Linked DNA regions of Homo sapiens: region 2 is linked to region 1. The links are contacts of gene promoters, found by promoter capture Hi-C in blood cells and fetal thymus (Javierre and others, 2016). All regions are on one chromosome and are shown on one strand. The core of a region is centred on a gene start or on the middle of the fragment in contact, and the rest is flanking DNA. Distances in the headings are between cores, read along the strand shown.

Evidence for each region. Contacts are between HindIII fragments. The CHiCAGO score rates a contact against its expected background, and 5 or more counts as called.
Region 2: a contact is called between a fragment that was not itself captured here and the fragment with the promoter of WDR88 in region 1, in 1 of 17 cell types (neutrophils). The highest score is 5.6, in neutrophils.

The regions. Positions count from the first base shown.
Region 1 is chr19:33,127,872-33,133,609 of GRCh38, reverse strand. WDR88 (WD repeat domain 88) reads right to left here and starts at 1,496. Exons shown (of 11, transcript NM_173479.4): 1 at 1,165-1,496. The coding sequence starts at 1,440. GPATCH1 (G-patch domain containing 1) reads right to left here. Exons shown (of 20, transcript NM_018025.3): 20 at 3,068-3,480. The coding sequence ends at 3,450. RefSeq lists an enhancer at 1,490-1,659 and a silencer at 4,417-4,561. The HindIII fragment of the contact is 21,697 bases long and covers 1-5,738 here.
Region 2 is chr19:33,356,578-33,362,252 of GRCh38, reverse strand. It overlaps the pseudogene AKR1B1P7. Among named protein-coding and RNA genes, the nearest start is that of CEBPG, 14 kb to the left of the region's middle. The HindIII fragment of the contact is 1,110 bases long and covers 2,242-3,351 here.

The DNA.
Region 1 (5,738 bases), core at 247-2,746:
CATCTGCATGTGAGTGCAATAAATCAAGGCCAAGCATGAAACGCTACTTATTGAGAATGTTCTTTATTGGGTTTTTGTTTTGTTTTGTTTTTGAGATGGAGTGAGATGATCTCAGCTCACTGCAACCTCTGCCTCCCGGGTTCAAATGATCTTGCTGCCTCAGCCTCCTGAGTAGCTGGGATTACAGGCACGCACCACCATGCCTGGCTAATTTTTGCATTTTTAGTAGAGAAAGGGTTTCACCATGTTAGCCAGGCTGGTCTCGAACCCTTGACCTCAAGTGATCTGCTCATCTCGGCTTCCCAAAGTGCTGGGATTACAGACATGAGCCACTGCACCCAGCCAGTTTTTCTTTCTTTCTCCTTCTTTCTTTCTTTTTCTTTTTCTTTCTTTCTTTCTCTCTCTCTCTCTATATTTATTTATTTATTTATTTATTTATTTATTTATTTATTCTGGAGACAGTCTCGCTCTGTTGCCCAGGCTGGAGTGCAGTGGCACAATCATAGCTCACTGCAGCCTTAAACTCCTGGGTTCAAGGGATCCTCTTGCCTCAGCCTTTCAAGTGGCTGGGACCACAGGTGCGCCCCATCACACTGGGCTAAGTTTATTTCTTGTAGAGACGACCTCTCACTATGTTGCCCAGGCTGGTCTCAAACTCCTGGGCTCAAGTGATCCTCCCACCTGGGCCTCCCAAAGGGCTGGGATTACAGGTGTGAGCCACCTTGCCTGGCCCAATTCATTGTTGTTATTATTATTCTGAGTTTCCCGTTTCTTCTGACGCTAACTGTATCTCCTGGACGGGGAGAGCTGAGCCACCGACCCTTGGGCTGCAATTAGGAGCATCACTGTGGGTGGGCCTACCTACGGAGACTCCAAGGTCTAGATGGGGTCACATGGTGGGGCAGAGCCTCCTCCCAGCGAAGAGTCCTGGTTCCCCAGCAGGTGGCAGTGCGGGGAGCCCCCGCCGGCATCCCCAGCACGCCCTGCTCAGGTGGGTCTGACCTTTGCCCACAGATGTACCACAGATGGGGAAATGGGCCTAGGGCCTCGCTGGGGGTCCTGGTGAAGCCAGGTGGGTTTTCCATGGGTCCCCCGACAGCTCGAGCGCCTTCCTCCCGTGTGGGGAACAGGCCAGTGCCCCCTCACCCCAGCGGCGGTTCTGACCTTGGAGAGAGGGTCCTGGTCGCCCCAGATCAATTTCTCCGGCACCTGGTGCTTCTCAGGCAACAGATGCGGTGGTGGTTCCCTGTCCAAGGCCAGGGGGTCGAGGGTGGCCAGCAGGTGCGTGTGCGGGATCGACAGCTTGAAGCGGCCTAAGGCCCTCGCCATGGTCCCCCAGGACAGCTTGCCGGGACAATACTCGCTGGCGGGGGCGGAGGGTGGCGGCAACTTGCATTCCCTGTCATGGGCTGTCGGGGAGCACCGCGGCGGGGAGGCCATCTCGAAGCCCGGTCCGCCGGTGGCCGCCGACAAGCCTGGATGGGAACGGTGGCGCCGCGCGCCCGCGCCCGCGCCCGCACCAAGCCCTTCGGAGGCGCGCGCTACGCTGGGCCCGCGACTTCGCTGCCTCCTCGCCCGCTGGGTGAAAACTAGTGCCACCCCGCGCAGCACAGGTTACCTATAGAAAAATGGGCTTTGCAGCCGGGCGCGGTGGCTCACGCCTGTAATCCCGGCACTTTGGGAGGCCGAGGCGGGCGGATTACCTGAGGTCAGGAGTTGGAGACCAGCCTGGCCAACAGGTTTAGTGAAACCCCATCTTTACTTAAAAAAAATAATAACAAAAATTAGCCAGGCATGGGGGCGTGCGCCTGTAGTTCCAGCTACATGGGAGGCTGAGGCAGGGGAATGGCTTGAACCCAGGAGGTGGAGGTTGCAAAAAAAAGAAAAATGGGCTTTGCATTCTGGGAACCAGGCCGAGCCAGCAAAACCAGCACCCCAGCCTCCAGCCCTCCGCTGTGGTTTCCCTGGCTCCTGTCACAGGGCAATTTCTTCATGTCCTCTGCCTGGGTACAGCTCCTGGCCAACCCACTTCATGACAAAACAGAAAAGGTCAGTAAGTTATGGGGTAGCCCCTGCATGAAATAAGATGCAGTTATTAGGGGTGGGTTTACAACATTTATAATAGATGAGGGAAATATCTGTCACAACCCCAACAACAGTGACAGGGAATAAAATGCTACCACCAGTCAGATAACAGCCCCATAGCTAGAAAAGGACAGGGTGGAATTATTCAAAATATTGAAGAAGGGTGTCATCTTTGGATGATAAAACTAAAAGTGATTTTCTTCCTTCTTTTTTTTTTTTTTTTTTTTTGGTGGAGACAAGAGTCTGTCACCCAGGCTGGATTGCAGTAGCGCAATTTCGGCTCACTGCAACCTCCACCTCCAGGGTTCAAAGGATTCTCGTGCCTCAGCCTCCCACACAGCTGGGATTACAGGTGTATGCTCACCAGACCTGGCTAATTTTTTTGTATTTTTAGTAGAGACAAGGTTTCGCCATGTTGGCCAGGCTGTTTTTGAACTCCTGGCCTCAAGTGATCCGCTGGCCTCGGCCTCCCAAAGTGCTGGGATTACAAGCATGGGCCACCGCACCCGGCCTCTTCCTTCTTTCTGCTTTTAAAATTGTTGTGATCTATGATGCTACTTTCATAATGTAAAATACAAATGCTCAATACTTTATTTTTTGTGGAGACAGGGGTCTCTATGTGGCCCAGGCTGGTCTGGAATTCCTGGGCTCAAGCAATCCTCCCGCCTCGGCCTCCCAAAGCTCTGGGATTACAGGCATTAGCCATCACACCTGGTCTGCACTTTATTTTTCAAAAAGGTCTCCTTGGTACACATGAGGTGGCCTCAGAGCAGGGAGCTGCAGCCGTGTAACCCAGGCTGTGGGTGCACATTCTCCTGCCTGGTTTCCCTGCCTGTCTCAGACACTTTAGTGACATCTACCCTGAGAGGCTGAGGCCCCCTGCCAGGCCCTGGCTCTGCCCTCCCATGGGGCTTCCTGGGCACCAACAGTAACCCAGCCACCCAGAGAGGGAAGAGCTTCACTCCCAAAAAACGGCAGGAGGGGCCGCAACCGCCCCTTCTCACACGCTTGTCCTTCAGTGAGTCCAGGCTGTCTTCATCACAAAACCAGAGAGAAGCCTTCACTTTTAACTTCTTTTTTAACGTCCCAGGAAATTTTTTAAAAATCAAGAAGAAAATAGAAAAATTCCACTTTAATTAAACTGTTCAGTCTGGATTTTTTTCCCCCGATACTAACTGAAATTAAAAATAGAAATCAATTTCTGCGACCTTTCAAGGCAGTCTTTGAAATGTCAAGGTTTTAAAAATTATTTTACAGCAGGAATTTACATATAAATACACTCTGTACAATGCGTTAACTGAACAATCACTGGGCTTCCATCATGGAGGAGAAATGATTCTAGGACGAGCCAGGGCAGCATTCAATTACTGCCTTCTTAGTGGAAGACTTTTCAGCCTGGAAAAGAAAACAGAAAAGAGAGAAATGGAAAGTTAGCTAAAGTGAAAAACCAAACAGCTCCGTGGAGGCTGAGAATGCCAGGCCTCCCCATATCACAGCAGCATGTCTGCACCTACAAAATGCACTCACAATAACCCACAATGAAGTACTGCCTAATCTGTGCTTTTTTTTTTTTTTCCCCCGAGATGGAGTCTCACTTTTGTCGCCCAGGCTGGAGCGCAGTGGTGCGATCTCAGCTCACTGCAACCTCCGCCTCCCAGGTTTAAGCAAGTCTCCTGCCTCAGCCTCCAGAGTAGCTGGGATTACAGGCACATGCCACCATACCCAGCTAATTTTTGTATTTTTAGTACAGATGGGGTTTCACCATGTTGGCCAGGCTTGTTTCGAACTCCTGACTGTGATCTGCCCGCCTCGGCCTCCCAAAGTGCTGGGATTACAGGCATGAGCCACCGTACCCGGCCAATCTGTGTTCTTAAAATGCTTCTTCTATTACCCTGAAAACACACAGAGACTCACTCACCCACACCTCGTATTAAGACCACTTATAAAAGCAACTTTTTTCCCTAGTCTTATTTAGCCTTGAGAATACAAGCAATTTTTAATCTCAGTTTCACTCACCTACCGCATCCGTTGCATGACCCTTGGGAAGGAACTAAAATACATTCACTCCAGGGCCCAAAGCATCCAAGTTGTCTTTTTTTTTTTTTTAATTTTTTTATAGAGACAGGGTCTCCCTATATTACCCGAGCTGGTCTTGAACTCCTGGGCTCAAGCGATCCTCCCATCTTGACCTCCCAAGGTATTGGGATTACAGGCATGAGCCACCATGCCCAGCCCCCAAGTTGTCAGTCTTAAATCTGAATTTCTTTTCTTTTTTTTTTTTTGAGACAGAGTCTCTGTCACCCAGGCTGGAGTACAGTGGCGCGATCTCGGTTCACTGCAACCTCCACCTCCCAGGTTCAAGCGATTCTCCTGCCTCCACCTCCTGAGTAGCTGGGACTACAGGCACGTGCCACCACGCCTGGCTAGTTTTTTTAGTAGAGATGGGGTTTGGGGTTTCATTGTGTTAACCAGGATAGTCTCGATTTCCTGACCTCATGATCCGCCTGCCTCGGCCTCCCAGAGTGCTGGGATTACAGACGTGAGATACCGCACCTGGCCTAAATCTGAATTTCATACATATAGGAATGTTCGTGGCAGTTCTATTTGAAACAGAGCTGGGTCACACTGGCTGAAAATCCCTGCTCCACAGACTCAAAGTAAAAAACCCAGTATCCACACAACAGAAGAGATAAACATACCGTGGTGTGCTCACAAGAAGGAATCTTCCACAGCAATGACTACAAGCCCCTCACTGCTGCCTACCATCATCTGAAGGAATCTCAGAAGCCAGACACTCAAAGAATTCACACAACACCCTTCTTCCCAATAAAGATAAAACTGGCAAGAGCAGGCCTGCGCAGCGGCTCACGCCTGAGGCTGAGGCAGGAGGATCACTTGAGGCCAGGAGTTCGAGACCAGTTTGGGCAACATAGGAGATCCCATCTCTACAAAAAAGATTTTTTTAGGCCGGGTGTGGTGGCTCACGCCTGTAATCCCGGCACTTTGGGAGGCCAAGGCAGGCGGATCACCAGGTCAGGAGATTGAGACCATCCTGGCTAACACGGTGAAACCCCGTCTCTACTAAATATACAAAAAATTAGCTGGACGTGGTGGCGGGTACCTGTAGTCCCAGCTACTCAGGAGGCTGAGGCAGGAGAATGGCGTGAACCCAGGAGGTGGAGCTTGCAGTGAGCCAAGATCGCGCCACTGCACTCCAGCTTGGGTGACAGAGCAAGACTCTGTCTCAAAAAAAATGATTTTTTAAAAAAATTAGCTGGGTGTGGTGGTGCACACTTACAGTCCCAGCTACTCTGAAGGCTGAGGTGGGAGGATCCCTTGAGCCGGAGAGGCAGAGTTTACAGTGAGCTGTGATCAGGCCACTGCACTCCAGCCTGGGTCACAGAGCGAGACTCTGTCTCAAAAAATAAAATAAAATTCATACCCTATAAATATATGCTATATAAAATTATATTACTTATATTTAAAATGTGCACAAAAATCTGTATATAGGCCAGGCATGGTGGTTCACACCTGTAATCCTGGCACTCAGAGGCCAAGGTGGGTGTATCACCTGAGGTCAGGAGTTTGAGACCAGCCTGGCCAACATGACGAAACACTGTCTCTACTAAAAAAATACAAAATACAAAAATTAG
Region 2 (5,675 bases), core at 1,547-4,046, 230 kb before region 1:
AATATCATAGAAACTCAAGCTGAGGAACATTCTATGAAATAGCTGCCAGTACTGTTCAAAAATATCATCATGAAAAATGAAGAAAGGCTGAGAAACTGCTCTGTAGTGGAGGAGATGAAGGGGACATGACAACAATGTCCCATAGGCTGCTAGAATGGATTCTGGAACAGAAAGGACATCAGTGGGAAAACGAGAAAATAATCAGATTGGATCTGTAAGTCTGTTAATAGTATTATGTCAATGTTATTTTCCTTAATTTTTTTTTGTCTTTTTTTTTTTGGTGGGTTTGGGTTTTTTGGTTTTGTTTGTTTGTTTGTTTGAGCCAGGGTCCTGCTCTGTTGCCCAGGCTGGAGTGCAGTGGGGCAATCTTGGCTCTCCTGGGCTCAAGGGATCCTCTCACCTCCACCACCCAAGTAGCTGGGGCTACAGGCATGTGCCACCACACCTGGCTAATTTTTAAATTTTTTGTAGAGACGGGGTTTTGCTATGTTGCCCAGGCTGGTCTCAAACTCCCAGGCTCAAACAGTCCTCCTGCCTCGGCCTTCCAAAGTGCTGGGATTACAGGTATGAGCCACTGCACCTGGCCAATGTTATTTTCCTACTTTTGATCATTGTTCCGGTCAGATCAGCTTTTGCTGGGAGTGGGGAGTGGAAGTAGCCTTGTGCTGAAGAGACAGGCACCCCTCCCTCACCACCCTGTACTAGGCAGGGTTATACATAGCACTGGTTAGCATGGCAGAGAACAGGAGATAAGTCTTCCAAGGCACACAAGACAGTATGAAACAATTCCAGGGAGCGCAGCAGCCATGGCCAGCCACCTTGTGCTCAACAATGGCACCAAGATGCCCATCCTGGGGCTGGGCACCTGGAAGTCCCCTCCAGGCCGGGTGACTGAGGCCGTGAATGTGGCCATCAATGTCGGGTACTGCCACATTGACTGTGCCCACGTGTACTAGCATGAGAATGAGGTGGGGGTGGCCATTCAGGAGAAGCTCAGGGAGCAGGTGGTAAAGCGTGAGGAGCTCTTCATCGTTAGTAAGCTGTGGTGCACATACCATGGGAAGGGCCTGGTGAAGGGAGCCTGCCAGAAGACCCTCAGCAGCCTGAAGCTGGACTACCTGGACCTCTACCTTATTCATTGGCCGACTGGCTTTAAGCCTGGGAGGGAATTTTTCCATTGAATGAGTTGGGTAATGTGGTTCCCAGTGACACCAACATTCTGGACACATGGGCAGCCATGGAAGAGCTGGTGGATGAATGGCTGATGAAAGCTATTGGCATCTCCAACTTCAACCACCTCCAAGTGGAGAGGCTCTTAAACAAACCTGGCTTAAAGTATAAGCCTGTGGTTAACCAGATTGAGTGCCACCCTTACCTCACTCAGGAGAAGTTAATCCAGTACTGCCAGTCCAAAGGCATCGTGGTGACCGCCTATAGCCCCGTTGGCACTCCCAGCAGGCCCTGGGTCAACCCCGAGGACCCTTCCCTCCTGAGGGATCCCAGGATCAAGGCGATTGCAGCCAAGCACAATAAAACTACAGCCCAGGTCCTGATCCGGTTCCCCATGCAGAGGAATTTGGGTGTGATCCCCAAGTCTGTGACACCAGAACTCATTGCTGACAACTTTAAGGTTTTTGACTTTGAACTGAACAGCCAGGATATGACCGCCTTACTCAGCTACAACAGGAATTGGAGAGTCTGTGCCTTGGTGAGCTGTGCCTCCCACAAGGATTACCCCTTCCATGAAGAGTTTTGAAGCTGTGGATGCCTGCTCATCCCTAAGTGACCTATACCTGTGTTTCCTGTCTCATTTTTTTCCTTGCAAATGTAGCATGGCCTGTGTCACTCAGCAGTGGGACAGCAACCTGTAGAGTGGCCAGCAAGGGCATGTCTAGCTTGATGTTGGATCTGAAGAGCCCTGTCAATAGAGTAGAAGTCTCTTCCAGTTTGCTTTGCCCTCCTTTTTGCCCCACTGGGGAAAGTACAACCTGAATACCCTTTTCTGACCAAAGAGAAGCAACATCTACCAGGTCAAAATAGTGCCACTAACAGTTGAGTTTTGGCTGCTTGGAACTGTAATCCCTTCAGCAAGACTTCTCTTTGCCTCAAATAAAAAGTGTTTTTGTGGAGAAAAAAAAAAGGACTGATACAGTGAAATATATGTTAAAATATAAAACATTTGAACAAAAAGAGCTTCTTATTTCAAAAAGTGTGAACAACTTTATGATAGTAACAAAAGCTTCTATTTTAAAAAGCCCTTTGTATTTATAGAAAGCATATATTTGCATGTATTCTTTGTAATAGTATATTTGAATGTTGTGGAATCAGAAACTTGCAAAAAATCCAAAATTCTAAATACTATAGAAAATCATCATAAAAAGTCACAGACAGGTAAAAATATGATGTTCACGGATGTTCACAGGTGAACAGATAAAATATAGTATATACACACAATGGAATACTATGCAGCCTTAAAAAGGAAGGAAATCCCATCACTTGCCACAACCTGGATAAACGTTGAATAAAATAAGCCAGGCATAAAAGGACAAATACCAAATGATTTCAGTATAGGAGGTATTAACACAGTCAAATTCGTAGAGGCAGCAGAATGGGGGTTACCAGGGCCTGGGAGCAGGAGAGAGATGGGGAATCATTTAGTGGGTGCAGAGTTTCAGTTCCGCAAGATGAAAACGTTCTGGAGTTCTGCTTCACAACAATGTAAATACACTTAACACTACTGAGCTGTATACTTAAAAATGGCTAAGATGGTACATTTTATGATATGTGTTTTTACCGCAATAAGATGAACGAATGAGTGAATAGCTTTAGTTAAAACAAAAGGTCACAGGTGATGCTGAGTTCTGTGGCTAATAGAGGAGCTATTCGTTCATTTCGGATAGCCATAATCCATCTTCTGTGCGATAGGCACTTGGCTAAATGTTGGAGTTAAATAATAATTAAGAAATGACCCCGTTTGTCAGAGTGTCTTCCATCTAGTTGGAGAGAGAGAGAAGTAAACAGTGTAAGGAATGTTCCACGTAGTGGGAATAAGCGCTGGGTGCCGGGAGAATACAAAGTAGGGGTGTTTCATGTGGTCTTGGGGTGGGGGAAGGAGTGGTAGGGTGGTCACTCGCGTCTTCTTGCTGGAGTACTGAAGGTGAGTAGGAGCTAGCCAGGCAAACGTGCGGAATGAAAGACCAGGTGATCGCATAGTGAGGAAGCCAGGGGCAGGGAAAGGCTTGGTGTGGCCAGGATTTAGGATTGGAAAGGGCTCATGGGATTGAGAAGACTGGAGGCGGAGGCCTTGTCAAGGAGTCTGGATCTTGAGATCAATAAGAAGTCATGAAAGCTTTTAAGGAGGGGAATCATATATCCAAATTTGCATCTTAAAAGGATTATTCTGGCTTCTATGGTGAGAAACAGTTTAGAGGAGAGCAAGACTGGAGACAGGAATATTAGTAAAGATTTAACAGTAAGGAAGTGACCAGCGGCCCTTGCAGTAGGCTGAGAAATGAATGAGAGAAGAAACAATGAGTTAGACAACTTTTTCTAGAAGTGTAGCTTTGAACGAGAGGAGATAGCAAGATGGCTGCAGGAGAATCTGGAGCCTAAAGATGTGTGCGTGAACATGTGTGTGTTCGAGTGGGAGGGACGGGCATGTTTAAACACAGACAGGGAGGACAGAGCCGAGCTGTATCCTAAGGGTATGGGAGGAAACCAGATCTCACTCAATAGAGCTTACTTTAGCTTAGGAGGAAGAGAGAGGGCAGGACTCTACTCTTATTTTAATAATAGGGAAAGAAACAGATGGATCTAAGTGTAAGTTTTTAGGTTTGCCATTAGAAAGTTAAGGGGTTTCTATATCATGGGTTTTGCTCTGTAAAATAGAAGGAAAGTTCATCCTGGAGGAGGAAATGGAGAGATGGTGATTTACAGAGAGAGTTAAGTGTGAAATGAGAGCTAAGAAGAATAGTAGAAAGAATGAGCTGACCCTGGGCCAGTCATGGTGGCTTATACCTGTAATCCCAGGACTTCGACAGGCCGAGGCCAGCAGATCACTTGAGGTCAGGAGTTCGAGACCAGCCTGGCCAACTTGGTGAAACCCTGTCTCTACTAAAAATACAAAATTTATCCCAGTGTGGTGGCAGGCACCTGTAATCCCAGCTACTCGGGAGGCTGAGGCAGGAGAACCATTTGAACCCAGGAGGCGGAGTTTGCAGTGAGCAGAGATCATGCCACTGCACTCCAGCCTGGGTGAAAAAGTGAGACTCCATCTAAAAAAAAAAAAAAAGAGCTGACCACGAAAAAGTGAGACTTCAGGGCAGCATGGGGCTGGAGATAGAATTATGTCCAGTGTATTTGTGTGGTTGTTTCTAGGAACACTACCATCAAAGATATTTCTTGGAATCTGACTTAGGAGCTTTGCCTGGCCTAGGCCAGTGCATCTGGATTTGAAAGGCTTGGGGAAAAAAACTATGAAGAGACACTGTTCTAGCACAACTCTAAATATAGTAGTAAGTTATATTTATTAAAAGAATGTGATATTGGCCCAAGAGTTGGCAAATAAACCAGTGGAACAGAACAGACAGCCCCAAAGCACAGACAGTTACATGTGGGAATGTACAGGATAAAAATTTGGCCCTCTAAGTTACTGGGGGAAGAAAGGCTTAGTCAATAAATGGTAAAGTGACAATTTGCTGTTGTTAGACACCTACCATGCATTGTGCATGAAAATAAGTTCTGAATGAAAATTAAGATCTAAGTATTTAAAAAGCCCTTTTTGTATCATTAGAGGGAAATATTTTTATAAACTTGGGTTAGAGAAAGTTCTAGTAATGATCTCATGAGACCTAGGATCCAAAAAAGAACAAGCAACATATTTGACCACCTAAAATTAAAAAGTAGGCCGGGCACGGTGGCTCCTGCCTGTAATCCCAGCACTTTGGGAGGCCAAGGCAGGCAGATCACTTGAGCCCAGGAGTTCAAGAACAGCCTGGCCAAAATAGTAAAACCCTGTCTATACAAAAAAATACAAAAAGTAGCCAGGGATAGTGGCGTGTGCCTGTAGTCCCCACTACTCAGAAGGCTGGGGTGGGAGGATAACCTGACCCTGGGGAGGTCGAGGCTGTAGTGAGCGGTAATCCCACCAATGAATTCCAGCCTGAGTGACAGAGTGAGACCCAGTCTCAAAAAAATAAAATAAAAATAATAAATAAATAAACTCTGTGTGACCAAAAGAAAAAAGAGTTTTTTTTCTTTGTTATTACACTCTACAGCTATTAAGAAAAAAGTAGAGGTTTAAGTTAAAGGGTTAAAGAATAAACTACCAAATGGGAGAAAACATTTGTAACATGTATAACACGTACGGGGTTACTATTAATATATGAGCTTCTATACATCAAGTCTACCACTCTGCATTTGTCTCCTTAATTATAAATTAAGTGGCCATATATGTGTGGATTTATTTCTAGACTCTCTGTTTTGTTACAATGGTCTGTCTACACTAGTGCTAATATCACAGTCTTTTATGATAGCATAATAATATGCTATGGTAAACATAATAATAAGGTTTGACATCTGGTAGTATAAATCCTCCAAATTCATTTTTCAAAATAAAAAGGGAAAAAATTTGTGATAATGTGTTTTCTCAAATGCAATGGGTAGAAACTCAGATA